Regions from separate parts of the Homo sapiens genome. Here region 1 is linked to region 2. The links are contacts of gene promoters, found by promoter capture Hi-C in blood cells and fetal thymus (Javierre and others, 2016). All regions are on one chromosome and are shown on one strand. Each heading gives the region's core, a stretch centred on a gene start or on the middle of the fragment in contact. The rest is flanking DNA. Distances are from core to core; before and after follow the strand shown. Region 1 has its middle 28 kb from the start of CHST14. Region 2 holds the start of BAHD1 (bromo adjacent homology domain containing 1).

Evidence for each region. The method cuts DNA at HindIII sites, captures the fragments that hold promoters and counts their contacts. A CHiCAGO score of 5 or more calls a contact.
Region 1: a fragment that was not itself captured here is called in contact with the fragment with the promoter of BAHD1 in region 2 in 1 of 17 cell types (M2 macrophages); the score reaches 5.6 in M2 macrophages.

What each region holds. Positions count from the first base shown.
Region 1 is chr15:40,495,732-40,501,498 of GRCh38, forward strand. No RefSeq gene overlaps it. Among named protein-coding and RNA genes, the nearest start is that of CHST14, 28 kb to the left of the region's middle. The HindIII fragment of the contact is 5,436 bases long and covers 418-5,767 here.
Region 2 is chr15:40,436,741-40,442,953 of GRCh38, forward strand. BAHD1 (bromo adjacent homology domain containing 1) reads left to right here and starts at 4,213. Exons shown (of 7, transcript NM_014952.5): 1 at 4,213-4,528. RefSeq lists enhancers at 1-229, 230-767, 2,919-3,456, 4,262-4,763, 4,764-5,263 and silencers at 3,919-4,588, 4,015-4,200, 4,649-4,708, 5,429-5,548, 5,569-5,638. The HindIII fragment of the contact is 2,346 bases long and covers 3,692-6,037 here.

The DNA of each region.
Region 1 (5,767 bases), core at 1,886-4,385, 58 kb after region 2:
TATTGCAATAGCCTCCTTTCTAGCTTCCCAAATCTCCATTGTCCCATTCCAGCCCAGTCCGCTTACATCCTTCAGTAACTTCCCTCCACTCTTAGGATAAGGACCCATATACTCAGCACAGCCATAGAATAAAGACCTACATACTCAGCACAGCCATAGACCCTGCATGGTCCACCCTGTCTTCCTTTCTCACCTCCACTTCCTAGAACACTTTTTCTAGCCACATAGGCTTTTCAGGTGTCAGTTACACCTGCTTCCCTGCCTACCACAGAGCCTCTGCACATGCTGTTCCCTCTTAAATGCTTTCCCTCCTCTGCTTCTACCTTGCATTGTCTGTCATCCTTCAGACCTTCCCAGTTGTCACTTCCTCAGGGGAGCCTCCTTGACCCCCTCCAGTAGATAAGTTGGCCTGCTATAAGCTTTCACAGTGAGATGCACCTCATCTTTATGGCCCTCCTGTCTATGTGTGATTATATATCTCCTAGGGCAATTATTTAATTAATGGCTGGCTCCCAATTAGCCAATGAATTTCAAGCAGATAGACACCATATATCTACTTGTGCTTACCTTTGTGCCTTCAGCTTAGCTATTGCAAATACTAAGAATGTTAAACTGTTGAACAATAAAAGCGGTTTTTCAATTTTGTTTTAAAGTATTTTAGTGGCTGTGCAAGGTGGCTCATGCCTGTAATCTCAGCACTTTGGGAGGCAAGGTAAGAGGATCGCTTGAGTCCAGGAGTTCAAGACCAGCCTGGGCAACATAGTGAGCCCTTCTCTCTACAAAAAGAAATTAAAAAATTAGCCAGGTGTGATGATGGCATGTACCTGTAGTCCTGGCTACTCAGAAGGCTGAGAAGGGAGGATGGCTTGAGCCCAGCAGTTAGAGGCTGCAGTGAGCTATGATTGCACCATTGCACTCCAGCCTGGATGACAGAGCAAGACCTTGTCTCTAAAAAAATAAAAATAAAAAATGTTTTAGTGGGTTTGTATTTGCATTTCCTTAAATAACTATAAATATAAAGGTTTTCTACTTGCCTCTTTTGATATATTTCTCAATCATGAATGGATCTACAAAAAGGGAGGAAGTGGTAGGCACCCAAAGAGCCAGAGCCTGCAGTAAATGAGGTTTTTGATGTCCCAGGTCTTATTTAAATCCTGAATGTCGGCCGGGCGCCATGGCTCATACCTGTAATCCCAGCACTTTCGGAGGCCAAGGCGGACGGATCACGAGGTCAGGAGATCGAGACCATCCTGGCTAACACAGTGAAACCCTGTCTCTACTAAAAATACAAAAAATTAGCCAGGTGTGGTGGTGGGTGCCTGTAGTCCCAGCTACTCGGGAGGCTGAGGCAGGAGAATGGCGTGAACCCGGGAGGCGGAGCTTGCAGTGAGCTGAGATCGTGCCACTGCACTCCAGCCTGGGCGACAGAGTGAGACTCCGTCTCAAAAAAAAAAAAAAAAAAAAAAATCCTGAATGTCACAGGTGTTACTGCACTTCTGACTCAGTGCTGTTGAAAATGTCCCCCAGGAGACTGCCACTTGTTTCAAGGGACTATGAGCCATGTTACCTCCCAATTCTGGACATTTTCTAAGCTGTAACATCATGTTTTCGTAATCTGACAACCTGCAGCTCAGTTAATGACATAAAACAATTCCATGATCTCTAAGACAAGCCCCCAGCACATTGAAGTCACTGGATGAGACCTCAGCACCATGGGCCCCTCCTCTCCACTGGGCTGACTCTGCCAACTCACTCTCACCTGAAACTGCCCTTGCTGCTCCTGCCTCTGCCATGTCTACCACTCTGTATAGCTGCCCTTTTCTTACTGCTGTGGCCTCTGGCTGCCAAAAAGAGACAGGGCCACTACCCTGGCCCTCATGACATTCAACTGCAGCTGCCATCTCTGCTAATGTGAGAGGAGGGATGGTTTCTCCACTGACATCAAGCCCAGCTCTCTTGAGTCTGGGCCAGACCTTGAATAGTCTGGCTTGTGAACGAGACACCAGCTAGTTCTTCCAGATGGTGTTCATGTGGCCCAGCGCTCTCCTACCTTAGGACGAGTTCCTGCCCACCCAGCTTGCTTCTCTCAGAAGTTTGGGGCAGCATTTTTCTACCTTTCTTATTTAGGATCCCAACCTTTTTTTTGAGACGGAGTCTCGCTCTGTCACCCAGGCTGGAGTGCAGTGGTGTGATCTCGGCTCACTGGAACTTCCACATCCCAGGTTGAAGTGATTCTCCTGCCTCAGCCTCACAAGTAGCTGGGACTTCAGGGGTGTGCTACCACACCTGGCTAATTTTTGTATTTCCAGTAGAGACGGGGTTTCACCATGTTGGCCAGGCTGGTCTCGAACTCCTGACCTCAGGTGATCCACCCGCCTTGGCCTCCCAAAATGCTGGGATTACAGGCGTGAGCCACTGCGCCTGGCCCCCAGAGCCCAACCTTGAATCCCAGCATCCTCTCTGCCATTTCCCAAGACACCCAGTGGGCCTCTGGATAAAAGACGTTTTTGATAGAGAGTTCTGTTATCCCAGACCCCGAGGTGACCCTAGCATAATCCCTGGACACTCCCCTATGCTGAGGCTTCTCCCCTAGACCCCCATTCTATTACATAGTCTGTGCCCCCTCAGCTCAGTCATTACTTTTCTGGGCAGCCTCCTTTGACCTGCAGACCAGATCAGATCTCTGTGGTTTGCTCCCTGATCACTGTGTCCTTCTCCTCTGTAGCTCTTACCACAGCTTGTAATTCTATATTTGATGCATGTCTATATCCCCCTCTATAAGGTGAGGTCATCAAAGGCAGCAGTTCTGTCTTTCTTGCCTACCACTGCATCTCCAGCATGCTGCTCATCTGGTCCGTGGTAGGGTTCAGTATTTGTTGAAGGAGTGAATGAACTATGATTCACTTCATTACGTGTCGGTCTTTTAAAAACATTTATCTTCAATACACCCGTTTCTCTGTGATGGCAAGTAAAACATTTTTGGAGGCAGTCACTAACCAGCATGCATTGCATGTGTGAGCACCACAATATTTTTATACTTGTGGGTTCGATAATCCAACCACATGCTTTATTAAAGTATTTCTTTCAGGGTTGTAAAAAACACTTCATTACTGGCTTGCGGGCAACCTGGCTCTGGGGGAAAAGGGTCGTGTTACCACACTGCAGATAGGTGAGGATACCAGTGCCAGGCAGGGAGGAGGCTGTGAGGATGCCCAGCCCCTGCTTAGGGATACTGCTTCCCCCCCTTCACTTTTGCAGATTGCAGAGGGCTTGAAGAAGGGATGCAGGCAGTTTGAGCACTGAGTGGCACGTATTCCTGCAATCCCCAAAGTCATGAGGGGGCTCTTTGGAGGGGGTCTCAGAATTGGACTGTATGGTTTGATTTCACGTATTTCTGGGTTTGCTTTGTAGTTTGTCAAGTCATCATACTGTATGCTACTGGCAGATGATAATATGTTAACCAAAAACGACAACAAAGCAGTTGTGATGCGAAGGATGAGGCTAGACTTGGAGTCAGAACCATCATCCAGTACATTGGTTCTTGGCACATAGTGAGAAAGAACCCTTGTGGAATGGAAGGAGAAGCTCCTGGGAAGCAGCGTGTGAAGGTGGAAAGGGTCTTGTTGCCAAGGCAATAACCATTCACTTCCATGGAGCACTGGCCAGGGGCAGGTGCTGTGCTGAGCACTTTGCATGCATGATCCCATTTAACCCCACAGTAATCTATGAGGTTTTTTTTTTTCTTTCTCTTTTTTCTTTTTTAGAGACAGGGTCTTTGTCACCCAAGCTGGAATGCAGTGGTGTGATGATAGCTCATGTGGTCTCAAACTCCTGGGCTCAAATCATCCTCCCACCTCAGCCTCCCGAGTAACTGGGACTACACGTGTATGTCATCATGTCCAGCTAAGTTTTTTGTTTTTTGGGGTTTTTTTCTGAGACAGAGTCTTACTCTGTCACCCAGGCTGGAGTGAAGTGGTGTGATCTCGGCTCACTGCAACCTCTACCTTCTGGGTTCAAGCAATTCTCCTGTCTCAGCCTCACAAAAAGCTGGAATTACAGGCGTGCACCATCACACCTGGCTAATTTTTAAATTTTTAGTAGAGACGGGGTTTCACCATGTTGGCCAGGCTGGTCTCCAACTCCTGACCTCAGGTGATCCGCCCATCTCAGCCTCCCAAAGTGCTGGGATTACAGGCGTGAGCCACCGCGCCCAGCCTTTTTTTAAAAATTATTGTAGAGACAGGTCTTGCTATGTTGCCCAGGCCGGTCTCAAACTCCTGGGCACAAGTGATTCTCCTGCTTCAGCCTTCTGAGTCCCTGGGATTACAGATGAGAACCACTCACCTGGCCAATTAGGGTTCTTATCAACATTTTCCATAATGAAACCATGTGTCAGAGTGAAAAAATGTGCCTGAGGTAACACAGCTAATAAATGTCAGAGCCAGGATTTGAAGCTAGTTCTGTTGGACTTGACATCAATCCACGTAACCTTGGGATACACTGGTTATCAGCTAAGTTGCATTCAAGCCCTTGCTCTTCCATTATGGCTGTGTGTCTTTACCTTATTTCTGTGAAAACATTATGTGCAAAATGTGAATAATAATACCTATGGCAAAATATTTCTGCAAAGATTAAATGAAACTGTGGATGAATACTTTAGAACTATACTGTCTGATACAGCAGCCATTAGCCACATGTAGCTATTGAACTTGGAATATGGCTAGTCTGAATTGAGATGTTTTATAAGTGTAAAAAATACACTGGATTTTGAATACTTAGTGGGAAAAAATGTAAAATTTCTCAGTTTTTCTGTATTGAATACATGTTGAAACGATAATATTTTGGATATACTGGGTTAAATAAAATACATTACTAAAATTAATTTCACCTGTTCCTTTTTACTTTTTAAATGTGATTACTAGAAATTTAAAATTATATATGTGACTCACATTACATTTCTATTGTACAGCACTGCTCTGGAGCCCTATAAATATGATTTATTATTGTTATGGTAATTTCACTCAGAACAATATTCTATTTCATCACTGAGGTCATCACCTAGACTGAGTCTGCCATAGAATGAGTCACCATTTTTCTATAAATGTGAGTTTTAGTATATAAAAAGATTATAAGTATTCATCTTTTGAATCCAGTCTTTCTCGTATGTATTTTATTGTCGTTTTTCAAATACACAGAGTCTTCCAAGGAGACAGAAGTCCCTATGTCTGGAGAAATTAACCCGTTCAAATATATAAATGACAATTTAAAACATTCTGACCCACATACTTTATTCAGGTAACTGGAGAATAACCTTCATCTTGTGGAGCACAGAATCACTTTTTCCTTGCACATGGTGGAAATAATTCCCTCCCTCCCCCCACATTACTCATCAAATGTTGTATCTTCCAATTCAAAATAATGCCTGAATCATTACTGTTTCAAACCACTATCTGTGAAAGCATATCATTTTAAGGCATGCGTAAAGTTTGTGTTCTTATTTGACCCATCATTCCAGCCTGGATACTCTTGGATCCTGATTTTCTCAATGAACATAATACTATCCCTTTCTACCTTATGTTTTTATGCAAATTTCATTTTAGACTTTCTGTAATTCCTTCAGGTCACTAAATGATAAAAGACGACATGGCTAAAGATAGTTAACTAAATTATAATCTCCATAAGGACAGAAGGCCCAAATTTACATACCTGAAATAGAGGACTGGTCTACATTCCATATTGAAGTTAAATTCCAAGAAAATGCAATTTA
Region 2 (6,213 bases), core at 2,963-5,462:
GGGGTGTGGGCGGGGTGAGAAGGACCCCGGGGACACTCCGATTAGGTCTGGAGACAGCCTGAAATAGGGTGTAGCCCGCAGTTGTTGGGGCTGCGGAGGAGGCGACTGGGGTGAGGGGCAGAGAATGCACCCCAAGAGAAAGGCATAGGGCCCCAAAGAGGGTAGGAGACGGGATTCAGAGAGCGGGAAGGAGAATGCAGAAACAGCTTTTACGGGGAGAGGCAGACTGCAAAGACGTCCCCTGGCCGGCAATCTGGAGGCTAGCGCTGGGCAGATGGGGGTTTTGGACACAGCGCCATGGACATGTGTTCCCCAAAGTCTGAGCGCATGCAGCCCCCTTGTTCCTTCTTGTGCGGAGACTGAGTCCCACACAGTCCCTACCTCACCGGGACCTCCCCACCCCCAAGGCCGGGGCCGTAGTTGCCTTCAGGGGAGGGAGAGGTCCTGTTCCTCACTGGGCACTCAACAGCTGGCTCCTTGGTGGTAGGAGGGTACCTTGCCCCTCCAGCTCAAGAGTCAGGAGGAGCACTTCTACCTCCTCATCCCTAGGGAAGAGGGCCCCCGCAGGTAAAGACCAGACTTCTGCACTAGGATTTGCCTGGGGGGCAAATAATTTCTGGAGATCCCTTTAAGGAGGGGTGTTCCAATCCCTTTAAGAGGGAGTGGGTCACAGCAAAAGGACTATAAAAGTCCAGCTTTCTTTATTCCCCCACCCCCCAGGGGCTTCCTATGATGGGGGAGGGGGCAAGTGCTGCTGCCGCATTTAATTGTTGCCTTGGTGTCCCTCCCCCAAAGAGCTGTGCCCTTCAGTTCGTCCAGTGGGGCTGAGGAGCCGGGTGGCTCAGTAAGTATTGTGGGGACCTAGACTTCAGGTGCTCTGGGGGTTGGGACAGGGGCTGCCCCACTTCCAGGAAAGAAGGTGGGACCTGGGCAGGGGCTGGAGGGAGGAGAAAGTGGTCACTGCCACCACTGCAGGGACTGCACTGCCGTTGGGGTGCCCTGCCTGGTGCCAGGTGGTTGGATCTCAGGCCAGGCGGTCTTCGGGGACTGCAGCGGGCAGTGGCGGGGAGGTGCTGGGGCTGGGCTGGAGATGACCGAGCAGCCAGTCTGTCCCGGCTGTCAGTCTGGTTGTGTGTGGTGGGGGAAGGGTGCGCCGCGTGGTCTCTCTGGCCCTGGATGTTTTACTCTAGGGCATCTCCCTCTGAGGCAGTTAACCCTTCCCGATGGGTCTGGAGGTGTCTGGGGAGAGAGAGCCCCTGCCTGGCAGCAGCCCGGGAAAGACTCCGGAGACCCGATGGACCCATTCCTCTTTCTACACCAAGTGCCAAACCCTTTTTTCAGTGGGAGACCTCTGGGCTGCCAAACATACCAGGGAGAGGAAAGGTGATGGGCCCCAGGCGTTGGCACAGCTGCCCAGTGAAGTGGGGTGGAGGCAGCATTCACTCAGGAAAGGTTACAGGACCGAAGGAAGGAGGAAGAGGTGGAGCCCTTTCCAGCTGTGGAAGGGCTTTGGACTGGGAAAGAAGGAGGCCCAGTTGCAGAGGTCCCTGAAAGTTGGGTGAAGGAGGCTAGGAGAGGCCAAAAGTTCCCTTTGGGGGACAGGCAGGGTGTAGCCCCTGCCTATTCTTTGCTGGCTTGTTTTAACAAGCAATAGGGAGGAAGGGGGGACAGAGGTGGCTCAGTGAGCTGGCACAGGAGGAACACTTAGTGCCTTTAGCCAGCCCGTGTCCCCGCACCATAGCCCACTCAGTCAGAGCCTCCTGGGGCAGCGGACACCGCCACCCACACTGGAGGCTCTGAGGGGAGAACTCCTCCAGCGGCCAGGCAGGCACTTGGTGGGCTGTCATGACTACTCTGCCTCCTCTCCGGTTGGTATTCCTTCCTTTCCCTCCCACTGAGACCCCAGATAAGACAACACTCCCCTGCTCACCCCAGGGCCCTCTAATGCCAACACCAGGAAGACACCCAATCCTGCCACCTCGTCCTGCTGCCATTTCCTCGGCTGAACGTGGGCTTCCTGCCACTTAGGTCTCCTTCCCTGCCACCAGGTACATTCCTCTTCTGGCCCTCCCGGCCTCCATCCCTGCCCATTATCAGGCCTGAAGTGGCTGCCAAGGTCAGCGCCGCCTGGGCTGCAGACAGGAGCCCGGCCTCTCTTCTGTCTTGGCCTGTAGCATGGCTCTGCCCCCGTGGCCACCACTGCTGTACCCTCCACCACCAATCTCTGACGAGTGGGGGCCACCGTGGGGTTAATTTGCCTATGGGCCAGACTGGGACAGGGAGAGGGGGAATTCTGTGAGGTGGGGAGTAGGGCTGGCCTGGTGTGTGTTGGGGGGGCGCTGCCGGGAACCTCTGTCCTGTCCAGGAAGGGGAGAAATCTTTCAGCGTCCTACTTTTACAGCTTTGGGGTTTTGCTTTCCCCAAGGGTGGGAGGTGGGAGAAGTGGCAGTGGGAGAACCTGGACCTTCGAGACATTTCCGTGCCACAGTTTTAGCTTTTAGCTTCCATTCACACACTTTCCCTGCTGAGGGGGCCCCTCCTTTAAGTGTGTCCCCCCAAACAGCTAAGACAGTCTGGGCCCCCTGGACAGCTCTGGAGGCAGATGGGGAACTGCTTCTGGGGGAGGTTGTTTCCCAGCCATATTGGCTAGCAGCCCTGATTGTCTTAAAAGGCTGCCTGGGTGAGCGCTGGAGTCCCAAGGTCTAGGAAAGGCTGGGCGCTGTGTGTGGTGCAGGAGGAGCCCCTCCGAAGCCCCTGGGCCACACTCCAAGGCTGGGTTTTCCTTGCTTGCCTGGGCAGCCTCAGCACTCTGGGTGCCTCTCTCTGCCCAAGGCGTTCCTGGGGCCCAGCCCCTCCCTGGGCTGCTCCAGCGCTCTGGTGACTTGACACTACCCTTTCTGCCGCTGCTCCTTTTACCTCCTAAAGCTCCCCTCCCCCGCCTGAATTGGGAATGAGGCTTTGTTCAGGGGTGAACTCAGCATTTCTCGAGAACCTACTGTGTGCATATCCCGGGCTTAGTGAAGTCCTAGGCGGGCTCTGGCACCACCAGGTGCCCAAGACACAGCTCCTTCCCGCACCTAACAGGGACTTCCCATCTCTCTCTGTGCCCTTAGCCTGCTGTGCCCACCCACCCCACTGACCCCGCGAGCGTGCTCGGGCTTGGGAGGGCACGTCTGTGGGGGTGAGAGACGGAGCCACAGCATTTGGTGACTAGGGGGAAGCCAGGTAAGTGTCTACACTTGGTTCTCCCGTAGCTTGGGGACGCGAGGGAGGGAGTCCAGCCGCTCCTGTCAGGCTGCCCGCCCCTTTCTCCCTCCCCCGGAGAGCTCTGATGTTCCCCGCGGTGGTGGAAGAGGGTGTGTGGGTGTCAAGGACTCACAGACCAGGCTCTGCTGTCAGCTGGAAATGGATGAGGGCTCCACACTCTGCTTCTGAAGAGGGTGAATTAGGAGCTGGGGTTGGGGGCGGTAGGTGAAGGGCAGAAAGAGGAAAAAGAGATGCGGGTGAGGGGTTACCGAGCCAGGACCGACCTTGCTGGAAAGGAAAGGAGACGTGGCAGGCAGGGAAGTCGGAAAGATGAGGCAAGGGCGGGAGGGGCTTCTCAGCAGTCGGGGCCCTTTTGCAGGAGTCTGGGGCCCTTTCTGCAGGAAAGGGGGGTTGTTCTCGCTTGATTTTCGGCTGGTCTTCCTGAAGCTTTGCCCTGGGGGCAGCAGCCTCCGGCGAGGATGGGGTGTTCCTCGGCCCGCAGTTTTCTCCAGCGCGTGCTGGGGAGGATTTGGGGGAAAGGGGATGCGGAGGGGTGATGGCCAGGGCGGGGGGAGATAAGATTTTTCCGGGGGGGCTAGCAGCTGGGAGATTGGGGTCGAGTCACCGTGGGATACGGGCTCAGGTTCTGAAGACGAAGAGAAAAATCCAAGAAGCCGGCAAAGAAAATCACCCCTTGCCACCACCCTTGGCACGGCACCCCTCCCCCAAGGCCCCACCACTCCCCGCACCGCCTCCCCCGGCCGCCTCGTGCTGCCCCCTGCGTTGGGACGACCGACCCACGGTTCTGATTGGTCAGAGACCGGGAGGGGGAGCCGAGGGCCGGATTGGCTGGCGGAGCCAGCGCAGGGCGGGGCGGCTGATTGGCGGAGCTGGCCGAGGGGCGCGCTGCTGATTGGCTGGGGACGAGGAAGCAGGAAGGAGGGCGGCGGAGGCTCCGCTCTCGGGGAGTTTGTGGGGGAACCGCGAGCGGCGTAGCGGATCCCGGAGCCCGGCCCCCGCCGCCCGCCCGTCCGGCTGCCTGCCCCGCCCGTCCGGCCCCCGCCGTCCGCCCGCCCCGGCCAGGCGCGCCCGCCCCCCCCGACGGCCCCGCCCGGCCGCGGTCCCCGCTCCGCCCGCCCGGCCCCGGCCCCCAGGAGGAGGCGCTGACGCAGCAGCGTGGAGCCCGGGAATTGAGCGCCCCCGGGGGGTTCCAGCCGCCGGATTCCAGCCCGGCCGGGGCCTGCGGGCGCCCAGAGCCGCGCCGTCCGCGCCGCCCGTTCTGGTGAGTCAGGGGCCGGGGTCGAGGAGGGGGAAGGGGCGAGCTGGAGGGAGGGAGCGAGCGAGGTAGGCAGAAGAGCGAAGGGGGAGAGCACCGGCCGCCCGTCAGCGCGCCCCACCGAGCGCGCCGCGCCACCGCCCCCGCCAGCCCGGGAAGGGACGGACGGACGGACGACGCGAAGCAGGTGCGGCCGCCCGCCCGCTCGCGCCACCTCCCTCCCCTGGGTCCGGCACCACGGTCCCGCCATCGGGGAACGCGGCGCGCCTCGAGGTGACAGCCCCCGGGGGCCGCCCGCCTTGCAGGCCGGGGGCGGGGTGGGTGGCGGCCGCAGGGTGGCAGCTCGGCCGGGCGGCGGCGGCGCGGGCGTCCCGAGCTGCGGAGGGCGGGAGGACGCCGGTCTTTCCTCGCCGCGGCGGAGCCGGCTCGCCTCCGAGTGCGCGGGCGGCGAGGCCCCCGCCGCGCCCCCTCCCCCATCGCGGTCCCCGAGGCAAGGGGCCGCGGCCGGGGGCGGCGCCGCGGGATCGCCCGCTCAGGGTGGGGGGCGCCCTCCCGCGCTGGGAGCTGACCGGTTATTGCTGGATGGGGGGCAGGGGATGAGGGCCGCGCCGGGCCGGGGGCGGCAGGGGGGAGTAGTGTAGACCCGACTCGATCGGGCTGAGAGGAAGGGAGGCGCCGAAGACGGAAGGGGACCGGTTCGAAAAGCGAGTGTGGGCCGCGGGAGGCCCTGCGGGGACCTTGCGGGGCGGCGGCCGAGTCCGAGGTGTGGCGGGGGGAATCGAAGTTGTCAGACCGCCTCCAAGTGACAGCGGGACCCTGTGCTCGCGGCCCGGCCTGGTCTTGCCCTGCTCGCTCCGCCGCCTCTCTTCTGGGGCTGGGGGCCGGGTCAGGTCGGGCCCGAGGGGCTCGCTTGGCGGTGAAGCGCCGGACAAAGGCGGCGCCGGAGCGGGCGCAGGTGGTGGCGTCGGGGAGGGGAGCGGGTCCGAGGCACCCACTCCGAGGGGCGGGCGACGGGGCCGGACTCTGCCCCGGGGACTGCGGGGGCCGGGGCGCCCGCCGGGAGGAGCTGCGGCACTGGCTTGCCGCTCTAGCCGCTCGCTGTTGGCCTCGAGGCTCTGGGAAGTGGGGTCTACTTGCCGGGGGCCGAGGGGCCGGGGTGGGGGTGTATGCTCATGATGTGCCTTGGCTGGTGGCGACGGGGTTGCTACTCACCGAGGCGACAGACCCAGTGAGCCGCTGTAGAGCCTGTCAAGAATGAGGGGTTTTTCAACAAGCAGAGTCTGCCTACAGGCAGAAGTCTAACCCCACCTGGGACATCTCCTAGTCGCCCATTGTCGACAGTGTTAGAAGTGCAGAAGACTAGTTTGATTAGGACAAGAGACACCCCACCCCGTGGGCTCCCGCCAGCCCTCCGCAGCTGCCTCCAGCACTTTTCCTTAGCCACAAAGGTACCCACTTAGAAAAATGAGAAGCTGAGTTTATAAATCCAGGCAGGAATTTAATAATGAAATAAAAAGCTTTCCAGTCCTTTTACTTTGTGCCACCTGAGACTTTCCTCCCTACTCTCTTCACCTCGCTGTCTTCCACAAAAAAAAAGAAAAAGGGCCCAGAGGGACCACATGTCTTGGAGGGGCACCACTGTCCTTGGCCAGCTTGGAGGATGCTTAGGAACCACTGGCTTAAGCTGTGAG